Linked DNA regions of Homo sapiens: region 1 is linked to region 2. Evidence: promoter capture Hi-C in 16 types of primary human blood cells and fetal thymus (Javierre and others, 2016). All regions are on one chromosome and are shown on one strand. Each heading gives the region's core, a stretch centred on a gene start or on the middle of the fragment in contact. The rest is flanking DNA. Distances are from core to core; before and after follow the strand shown.

What was found. The method cuts DNA at HindIII sites, captures the fragments that hold promoters and counts their contacts. A CHiCAGO score of 5 or more calls a contact.
Region 1: a fragment that was not itself captured here is called in contact with the fragment with the promoter of SLC30A4 in region 2 in 3 of 17 cell types (M2 macrophages, total B cells and naive B cells); the score reaches 6.7 in M2 macrophages.

The regions. Positions count from the first base shown.
Region 1 is chr15:45,568,946-45,574,342 of GRCh38, forward strand. No RefSeq gene overlaps it. Among named protein-coding and RNA genes, the nearest start is that of BLOC1S6, 16 kb to the right of the region's middle. The HindIII fragment of the contact is 5,703 bases long and covers 1,228-5,397 here.
Region 2 is chr15:45,518,550-45,524,326 of GRCh38, forward strand. SLC30A4 (solute carrier family 30 member 4) reads right to left here and starts at 4,206. Exons shown (of 8, transcript NM_013309.6): 1 at 4,058-4,206; 2 at 3,415-3,919. The coding sequence starts at 3,805. It also overlaps the pseudogene HMGN2P46. RefSeq lists a silencer at 3,909-4,398. The HindIII fragment of the contact is 8,884 bases long and covers 1-5,777 here.

The DNA of each region.
Region 1 (5,397 bases), core at 2,829-5,328, 50 kb after region 2:
AAAACTCAGCTTCTGGTGTGCTACTGGCCTTGACAGAAATGGAGCATCTGATTATGTAATATGTATCCATGTGGCCAGAAGGGCCCATTATGAGCTAGCTTCTGAACCACCAAGTCATAAGGTCAGGTACGCCTAACAGCAACCCATTGTACTTGGGAAGTGGTACATCTGGACTGGGTACAGGCAGGCTCAGACAGGGGGTACAGCTATCACATAGGTAGTACAGACCCCAGTTACATTTACAGACATTGCCACTTTTATGGTTTTAGCTAACATTACCTGGGTGGAAAGATATTAGCAAAACTTTGTCTTAGTAAGGTTCTAACTAGGAAGACATAAATTATTCTGAGTATTTGAAAATAGAGTTTATGATAGAGAATTGTTACTCTTGATAATTATTAATCAACAGGGGATGGTGAGGCAATCCAGAGATTAGCAATGACAGGCAGCCACTGTCCCCTCGGCTGGAGAAGAGGTGGTGTTCCTGGAACCCAGGGGTAGGGGTTACCTGGTATGCCAATCGTCAATTTATTGTCTCTTCACTCCAAATCCATTCTTCATTGCCTATAGTCATAATTCTAAGATGGCTCCCAAGATTCTCACCTTCCTGGTGTACAGGTCCTATATAATCCCTTTTTCGTGAGTATAGATGGGACTGTGAACATGATGGATTTTACTCCCGTGATTAGGTTACATCAGATGACAAAGGTGAATATATAATTGAGATCTCAAATCAGTTAACTTTGAGTTAATCGAAGGGTGGTTTTCCTGAGTGGGTCTGACCTACTCAGGTGCTTTCTTGAAAGAGAAAGAGGACTCTTCTTGGGCGAGGAGATTCAAAGTTAAGAGGGCCCATGGAGGGGGTGACATGGCCAGAGTACCCTCTAGTTGTTGAGAGTGGTCCCTGGTTGACAGCCAGCAAGAAAACAAGGTCTTCAGTTCTACAACTGCAAGGAACTAAATTCTGCCAATGACCTAAATGAACTTGGAAGTGGATCACTTCCTAGTTGATCCTCCAGATGAATATGTAGCCAGCTGACACCTTGATTTCAGCTGTGTGAGACCTTAAGCAGAGTACCCAGACAAAATGTGCCAGACTCCTAAGCCACAGGAGCTGTGCAATAATAACTTTGTGTTGCTTAAACCACTAAGTTTGCGGTAATATGTTATGCATCAATAGCAAACTAATATAGGCCTTGTAAATAGTTCTCTTCTGGCATGATATTAAGCTTTGTTGGTAGACGGTGCTGGAGAGACATTGCAGGAGGAACGTTTTTTTCTCTCTCTTCCTGACTTCCGTGTGCTCCTCTCACCGGTGCTCCTGCAGTATGTACAGCATCTGCAATACTTGGCTCCTGCAACACACATGGCTTCTGTAGTGCCCAGCTCCTGCAGTATTTCCTAGCTGGCAGCACACAGTACCTCCCCATGGGGAGTTTCCCCAGCATCACCTAAGGTAGCTTTGCAATGGGTGGCAAGGTTTGGTATCTCTCTGCAGATAGCTTGTCTTAGTACCTCAGCAAGTGCTTCTGGCATGGCACCTCAGCTTCACTATCTAGTGAACCAACACTATTCCATCTCCAACAAGATCTGGATTTTTGTCTTGGTGAGGTTGCAGAGATCTTACTTGGATGCTTTATCTCAGTCCCAACGTTGTGACTGCTCCTTATATCTGCTATTCTTGTATTCTTTAGAATTATCTTTCTTACTGCATTGCTCCAATATCTCTCTAATAGTGAATAACTTTCTATATTTTAAAATTTAATTTAACTTAATTATATTTTATTTTTTGAGTTGGGACCTTGCTATGTTGCCCAGGCTGGTCTTGAACTCCTGGGTCCAAGCAATCCTCCCTCCTTGGCCTTTCAAAGTGCTGGTATTACAGGTGTGAGCCACTGTGCCTGGCCTAAATTTCTATATTAAATTTTCCCTGTTTAAATTACTGTGTGCATTCTTTCTCCTCATTGGACCCTGCCTGATATATCTGACAAAGTTGGACTCACAGCAGGACTCTCCAACTGGGAGCTGGGGCCAGATGGGAGAGCCAGTCATTGCTCCAGTTGCCTTCTGAGGCAAAAAGGAAGGAGAAATACCTTGATTTCTTCTTTACCACCCCCTTCCAATCTCCCAGCCTGTAACCTCTACTAGTGCCTCCCATTGGCCAAACTCAGCTGGAAGCAAGCTGGCACAGGGACCAGGAAAGCCAGCCCCTGTGGTATGGGGCAGAGCAGGGAAGGTGACGGTGGGACTGAGGAAAACCAGGACTGATAAAATCCTGCAGTAGTCATTGGCATTCAGGGATTAGTTCTCCTAAGTTTATGATGAGATACAGACAGACTATATTTATCTCTTTATTAAGTAAATTAATTTAAAGTCTATTTTTCTCTCTGGGAGCACATAATAGAGACTTTTCTGAAAACTTAGAGGGAAAAATGACATCTTGAGATATTTAGCTGTTAATAAAAATTAATGCCTTTAAATATACCCTTTCATCTACTACATCAAATAAGCAGTTTTGAAAAAATACTTTAAAATGAAGGTAAGTGAATAATTAATTTTAAAGACAGCACTTTCCTAAGTAAATTCAAAAAATGTTGACAAGAAATTTATAGGAAGTCCAAAGACTAGGGCAATAATTTAGAAATTACTTGATCCACTGGCATTTTTAAACTGAAAAAGGAATCAGAGACTCTGAACTCTTTGTATTATTGACCTCATTACATTATAAGGAAATTGAATTTTTAAAATATCATCTCACCTTTTGGTCTGGAGAATCTTTGGAAATAATTCACATTTAGCAACTGAAACACTTTGAAGAGAACATTTTAAGTAAAAAAAGGACTATTTTGCATAGCTAATGCAAGTACTTATTTTAGCAATTTTAAATGAAGCATGATCTATCTCCTAGCTAATTTAAATAAATCTATCCTAAAAGGAAAGCTGAGTCCTGGAATAATATATGATGCCTATGGTCATTAAAATCACACTTTTTCCATAACATAGAGAATAAAGTAATAATGACTGATGGCTACTTTGATATCTACATGTAAGATTAACAAATGAATTTTGTGAAAACCCCAAAGTGGAAGAAGAATCGCTGTCTTTTGAATAATATTTAAAGTTATTTGAATGAATCATCATTTGTGACTAGTTTTACTAATAGTTCAAAAACACTGATACTATTTCAAATGATTAACACTCAATATTACGGATATTCATTTACTGTCAGATTTGATAATACTAAATAAAAAATAAAAAAGATTCCCCACCTGCCAATAGAAGCAGAACACTGGTATTGGTGATGTTCTCTATCCCTCACAGCTTGATCTTCTAATTTTGCAGGTTTGCAACTTCAGTTGCCAGCTTAACCAGTTGATATTAACCACTAAAAAACTGCCTATTGTATGAAGTTGATTTGTATAAAAGAAATGAATTTTAATAAAACATAGAATTGCCAAGCCCTCCGATATTCATTTAAGTCATTTAGTCCCTCTTATTTCAACAGAGAAGTCTACATAAGAAGCCAAATTAAGGTTGAATGGTTACTTAGGAAACCTAAAGTCTATTTAAGAGATCACATTAAGGTTAGTGAATATATGTATCCAAGGCACTAATAACAGAAATAATACTATTTCTTCTAGCCATAATAAATGCTCGTTTAGTGGGTGCTATTATTTACAATAGTGTCTTGCAGCAGTTTACAAATCCTGTTCATATAATGCGTGCTTGATTCTTACAAGAACTACACCGAGTAATGGGTCTGGTATTATCATTATCATGCCTCTTTTACTGATGAAAAAAACACAGGTTCAGAGAGTAAGTGACTTGACTAAAATCTCATAACTGATATAGTTGACATCTGTTGTTTTGGTTGGGCCAATTTCCTTCCTCTTTTTGGTAATAGGACTCTGATTTTTCCTTTAAGGAACTACCCAGTGCCTTTCTATAACTCCTAGCAGGTCTGTCAGTCAAGGGGCTCTGCCTCTGTCTGTTATGTGTGACCCACACTGACCCATCAGGGTCCACTATATTCCCCTAGATGCAGAGATTGGTATACGGGTGGGCATGTAATCCAAGTATTTGAGTGTTTTTTTTTTTTTTGAGATGGAGTCTTGCTCTGTTGCCCAGGCTGGAGTGCAGTGGTGCAATCTTGGCTCACTGCAACCTCTGCCTCCTGGGTTCAAGCAATTCTCCTACCTCAGCCTCCCGAGTAGCTGGGATTACAGGCATGCGTCACCACACCTGGCTAATTTTTGTATTTTTTGTAAAGACGGGGTTTCACCATGTTGGCCAGGCTGGTCTTGAACTCCTGACCTCAAGTGAGCCACCTGCTTCAGCCTCCCAAAGTGCTGGGATTACAAGTGTGAGCCACTGTGCCTGGCTTTGAGTTTTTTTTTTTTTTTTTTTAAGGGATTGAAATAAATGAATGCTAGGAGCGCACTGACTTCACTTGGGAGATGTAAGGATCATGAAACCCTGGAGCTATTTTCCTATCACATTGAGAGAGCTCCTAGAGTGAATGCTACATAGGAGAAAGCAGAGTGGAGAATCAAAGGGAGAGAGAGGGAGAGATTCCTATTTTGGCTGAGGAGAAGACATAGAAATCCTTGAAGCCAGAGCAGCCCCCGGACTTTCAAGCTCAGTTGATCAAAACTTCCTTTGTTTGTTTAGGAAGGTCTGGACTTCTCTACTTGCTAGTTGGTTAGACAAAAATCTAATACAGCTAATGATTATCTTAGCTGGGCTTGAAACAAATCTTTTGACTTTAGCCCTTTGCTATTTCTTTTCTTGGGATATTTGAGGTGCTGCTTTTCTGGCTGGAAACCTCTGTGGGTGGTGGTGCCTTTGCCCAAGTTCTTGTCCTATGTCCAGGAAGAGTGATGTATGCAGACAAGTGGAGGGTGAGCAAGACGAAGAAGAACTTTACTGAGGGTCAGAACAGCTCAGAGGAGACCCGCGGTGAGCAGGTCCTCTCTGTGGGCAGGTCGTCCCATCGAGTGTGCAGCTCTCAGCAGAGAGGAGGCCTGGAGTGGATGGCTCCTCTCTGCTGACAGGTCATCCCCAAAAATGTTCATCTCTCAGCGGAGATGGTAGTTCCTCTATGCAGCTGGCCATCCTGATGTCTGCCCTGCTCTGGCTGAGTCTGGGGTTTTTATGGTTTTCATTCAGAGTGGGGAAAGTATATGCTGATTGGTCCATGGGCAGCAATAGGTGGGCTCAGGAAAAAGCACCACAAGTTCCCCCTCTGGTGGGCAGGACTGGTAGGACCTTCCCTGGCCTGAAAGTGGAGCTTCACTGGGGACCCACCCCCTTCCTCCCAGGAGCCTGTCTGCCTCTCACGGCCATTCATTGGCACCCAGGATGTTTGTGCCAAGAGGTGCCTGCAGGCCAGTGTTG
Region 2 (5,777 bases), core at 2,956-5,455:
ATTTAGTTACTTCATTTTTTTTCCCTTCTTTTTGAGAGAGTCTCACTCTGTCACCTGGGGTGGAGTACAGCAGCCGGATCTCAGCTCACTGCAACCTCCACCCCCTGGGCTCAACCGATCCTGCCACTTCAGCCTCCAGAGGAGCTAGGACCACAGACACGCACTACCAAGTCAGGCTAAGTTTTTGGTTTTTTTTGGTAGAGAGGGGGTTTCATCATGTTGCCAGGCTGGTCTTGAACTCCTGAGCTCAAGCGATCCTCAGGCTCCCAACGTGCTGGGATTATAGGCATGAGCCACTGCACCCAGCCAAATTGCTTCATTTTTTATTACTCCATACTTCCTACATAAGATACTTCCTACACCTGGCCAAATTGCTTCATTTTTTAAAAATATATTTTATTTAATGTAGTCTCACTCTGTTGCCCTGGCTGGAGTGCAGTGGCATGATCTCAGCTCACTGCAACCTCTGCCTCCTGGGTTAAAGCGATTTCTGGCTAATTTTTGTATTTTTAGTAGAGATGGGGTTTCACCATGTTGGCCAGGCTGCTCTCAAACTCCTGACCTCAAGTGATCCACCCGCCTTGGCCTCCCAGAAGTGCTAGGATTACAGGTGTGAGCCACCGTGCCTGGCCAAATTGCTTCATTTTTTATTTCTCCATACTTCCTACATAAGATGCTTTATTTCTCTTTCTTTCTTTCTTTTTTTGAGACAGAGTCCCACTCTGTCACCCAGGCTGGAGTGCAGTGGTGCAATCTTGGCTCACTGCAACCTCCACCTCCCAGGTTCAAGCGATTCTCGTGTCTCAGCCTCCCCAGTAGCTGGGACTACAGGTGCGCCATGACGCCTGGCTAATTTTTTTGTATTTTCAGTAGAGACGGGGTTTCACCATGTTGGCCAGTCTGCTTTCCTCCTAACCTCAAGTGAGCCGCCTGCCTCGAAGATGCTTTATTTATAAGCGCTTTGGACACACTTTAATAAATGCTCTATTGTATACAGTTGAACTCTATATAACATTTTGAATAATATTGTTAATGCTTACCCTAAGTACTACTATCATCTCTGTATTGTTTAACAAAATATTTCCACATTTGACAATAAAGTCAGTATTTGAAAGGAAATACTTATTGTGGCTTTCATAAAACAACATTTACCAAATAACAGATTTCAGAAGTGAGAAGTCAAGACAATTATATCTTAATGATTTTTACTTAGGTGAAATAAACTCTGAATTATTAATCATTTTAAGGGGGGATGCTGTGATTGTTATTTTAACTTCAAATATTCAACGTTAACTTCAAAAATCATTAAACCTGAATGACTCAATATTCTAGTTGTGTTAGTTTGGGCAAGTCACCGAATCTCAGTCTGCTGAGACCATGGTGCTTTATCTGGGGCACAGGTTGTCTCCTGTCTTTTAATTTCTTTACAGCTCAAGCATTTATAATTATCTAACAGAATAAAAATGAATTAATTCAACAAGTTTATTGAGTATCTACTTTGTGCCAGTCACTGTTCTAGGTGCTAGGAATTCAGCCTGTATTTCAGTGGAAACAGGTAATATTAAATGAGTAAATAAATAAGATATCTCAGATGCTGAGGACTTTGAAAGTTGGAGAGGGAACAGGGAACAAAAGAGATTTACTTTAGTCAGTCAGAAAAGGTCTCTCAAAAGTGTGGGTTTTTTTAATTTTTATTACTTATTTATTTATTTATTATTTTATTTACTTATTTTTTTTTGAGACGGATTCTCACCCTGTTGCCCAGGCTGGAGTGCAGTGGCGCAATCTCGGCTCACCACAACTTCCGCCTCCCGGGTTCAAGCGATTCTCCTGCTTTAGCCTCCCAAGTAGCTGGGATTACAGGCGCCCACCACAACGTCCGGCTAATTTTTGTATTTTGTTTTTAGTAGAGACAAGGTTTCACCATGTTGGCCAGGGTGGTCTCAAACTCCTGACCTCAGGTGATCCACCCACCTCGGCCTCCCAAAGTGCTGGGATTAAAGGCGTGAGCCACTGCACCCGGCCGGGGTGTCTTTTTAAATAAGACACGAATGACAAGAAACTGGCCAAGAAAAGATTTGGGAAAGGCAGTCTATGTAAAGCAGTGTTTTTCAAGCTAAGGCCCTGACCTACTGCAGTGGACACACGAAATCCATTTAGTGAGCTGGGACCACAATTGAAGAAACTATTAGGATACATCACATGAAGGAAAACTTTTGTTTCAGTTATACATATATTTATACACATGTGACCTGTGTATATTCTCATACATATGTATGCATGCATGCCTAAATGAGTCACAATGTGAAGTGTATTTCTTACTACAGTGAGGTCAAAAAATGTTTGAAAGCCACTGAGATAGAAGGACCAGCCACTTTGAACGCCTTAGAGGCAAAAAGAGCTTTGTGAGTTGTAAGAGGAAAAAGAAGACCAGCATGGCTGAAGCGAGCCCTGGGGAGGAGTGTTATGAAAGAAGGTAGGAAATGTATATAATTTTTCCCACATAGAACCCTCCAGTCAAACATCTTAAATCTGGACTGCCACCTGTTTTTGTCATGGTTCATCATTTAAGAGATGACATGTAAGAATCATCTCCCTGCTTTTATGTCACTTTGTAAACTGTCACTGAGAAGTTAGTAGTTATACTGACGTGATTGAAAATAACCTCTAAACTAAGAATGTATCTTATATTGAGAACGGATTGTTCGTATAATTAAAAAATGAACAAGAAAACCAGGCTCATAGAACTTTGGCGGAGTCCTCTGGTTCATTTCAGGCCCTTCTTACGAGGCAAAAATTTCATGTTAGTTGGTAATTAATTTTGCAAATCTCTTGGCTATAAATACAAAAGGAAATCGTATAAAAGAAACCACTTAGGTCAAATGTAGAGGAAAAAAATGCTGGGACTGTAGATGTGGCTCTTCCATTAACTCCCTAAGTGGCCCTCACGACTTATTCCACTGGTTTGTGCCCTGGAAATCCTTACATGTAAAAAAAAAAAGGAGGTGGAGCAGGTGTTCAGTAAGGTCCCTTCATACTGTAAAATTCTATGATCTTAAGTTATTTACGATCATTTACTATTTTAAACGTTGCGAAAATTAACCTGGTATTTTACCAGACCTTTGTAAAAAGAGGAAGTTACATGACATACAATGAAGATAACGTCCTTAACTTTACGGTAGATGACAGTGGTTGAACAACTAGAAGAGAAAGTCAAAGTTATCTCGGGGAGTTTATATTGTACTTAGATTGAGCTGCACTTTGGAACCGTGTGGCCTTTTCACATGAGATCAGTGTCTTGATAAATACAAACTTCCTGAAAAGATGGGTTAAACCTCAAAGCCTGTGTAACTACAGCTTGACAAAGACTCTCGAGGAAAGGTAAACGGAAAGTGAGTTGGCAACACAACTCACCTACAAGTTCTCCAATCATGAAAAGCAAGTACAGAACGGCAGCAATGGTCAACCTGGCTTTCACCTTTCTCTGCTTCAGTATCTCTCTCTGTTTGCTGCAGTTGTCACAGGAGTCCACCTTCAAACTCAGCTGACTGTTGGTCAAAGGTAAGTCTTGGTCCAGTAAGGAATCATCGTCGGCCTGGAGGGTCGGGTGCGCCCCGTTAACAGGCCTTTCCGGGGCTTCGGAACCGTCATCGGCCACCACAACTCGAAGTTTGTTGAACCGAGAAAGCCCCTCGTCCCCCGCCTCATCCGAGAAGTCAAAGGCGCTGGTGTCATTTAAAAACAGCGGCGCATCATCCTTCCTTAGCATAGATTTGAGGCGCTTCCACGCGCCAGAGCCGGCCATGGCAGAGGCTGAGCGGCCGCGGTGCGGAACGGCTTGGGGGAGGCGGACGGCCGGCGGCGCCTACTTCACCGGAGCGCCAGTTCTCGAGGGCAGTGCCGCGCGTCCCTCCCCATCCTGTGGAAAACGAAACACGTTATAAATTAAAGGCGCCCAACCCTGTCCTCAAGTTCCGAAGCCGCTGGCGGCGGGTCGCAGGGCCGACCCCGACGCTCCGCCGGGGCTCCGCGAGGGGGCGGCACATCTATTTAATACCTGGGGCGCTGCCGCGGGGCCGCAACTCATCTCCCCGCCCCCGGCCGGCTCAGCGAGGCGGGCTCGCGCTGCTCCACCCGCGGCCGCAGGAGAGTGGGGTCGTGCTCGCGCCCGCCGCGCCCGCTGCTGGAGGCCGGCTCCCCAGGTCTGACAGGTTCGGGGCCGGACGCCCACAGCCACCGCCTCTCCCCGCCCTGCGCGAGGCCACGCGCGTGCGCCGGGCGAGGCGCGCGAGGGAGGGGTCGGCGCGAGGACACGCAGGCCTGGCGCGCAGGGCTGGGGCGCCCGCGATGGGCGGGGGCGCGCGGCGCGCCCCGCCTCTCGCCCCGAGGCTGGATTGGGGGCCACTGCGCCGCCTCCGCCCAGGGGTCACTCACTGGCCAACTGAGGGGACTTTGGGCGGCCTCTTCCACCTTCCCAGGCTGGGAGGCAAGTGCGGTCGGAGGGTCACGCCGGGGGCTGGGCGTTGCTGCTAGGAGTTCCCTCCACCGAAAGTGTGTCTCAGGAATCTCGGGTCGGGATCTGGGTTGCGGGTGCTCGGCAGAAGACAAACCCAGCACTTTTCTTGCTAACTGAAAAGGCAAGCAGCTTTTCTCTCCTCGAATTGCTTGTCTCTGGCAAATTGGCAACATTTGCTGCAGTCAACTGGAGAGGGCAAGGCTGTCGTCGTCAGCAGTTCTGTGTCCTACTGTTTTTCAGCAAATATGTATTGTCCTCTTTGTGCTCTCTGCCGTGTTCCTTTTGCCTCCAAGGTATTTACGATATGGACTAAACTCAAGCATAGAAAATCTAGTACAGGCATACCTTGGAGATACTGCGAATTTGGTTCCAGACCACCGCAATATGACAAAGTGAGGTCTCACAAATGTTTCATGTCCCAGTGCAAATACAATCATGTTTATAATGTAGTCTATTAAGCGTGTAATAGCGTTATGTCTAAAACAATGTGCATACCTTAATTTAAAATATTGGGAGAGAGGAAGGAAAAAGTATATATACATTTGTTAATTGCTCTGAGGAAGGAGGGTCGCATGAGCCCAGAGGTTCGAGATTACAGTGAGCTATGATTGTGCCTCCGCACCCCTGCCTGGCGACAGAGTGAGACCTTGTCTCTAAAAATAAACAAGTAAATAAAATACATGACTGCTAAAAAAATGCTATCAGCTGGGCGTGGTGGCTCACGCCTGTAATACCGGCCCTTTGGGAAGCCGAGGCGGGCGGATCACCTGAGATGGGGAGTTCAAGACCAGCCTGACCAAAATGGAGAAACCCTGTCTCTACTAAAAATACAAAATTAGCTGGGCATGGTGGCGCATGCCTGTAATCCCAGCTACTAGGGAGGCTGAGGCAGGAGAATCGCTTGAACCCGGGTGGCGAAGGTTGTGGTGAGCCGAGATCACGCCATTACACTCCAGCCTGGGCAAGAAGAGCAAAACTCGGTCTCAAAAAAAAAAAAAGCTATCAATCATCTAGGCCTTTAGCAAGTCATATTCTTTGCTAGTTGGAGGGTCTTTGCTCCTTGTTAATGGCTGCTGACTGATCTGGATGGTGGCTGCTGAAGGTTGGGGTGGCTGTGGCAATTCCTTAAAATAAGACAACAATGACATTTGCTATATTGATTGACTTGTTTTCATGAAAGAGTTCTTGATGGCGTGTGATGCTGGTTGATAATATTTTACCCACAGTGGACCTTTCAAAATTGGAGTCAATCCAGTTTTCT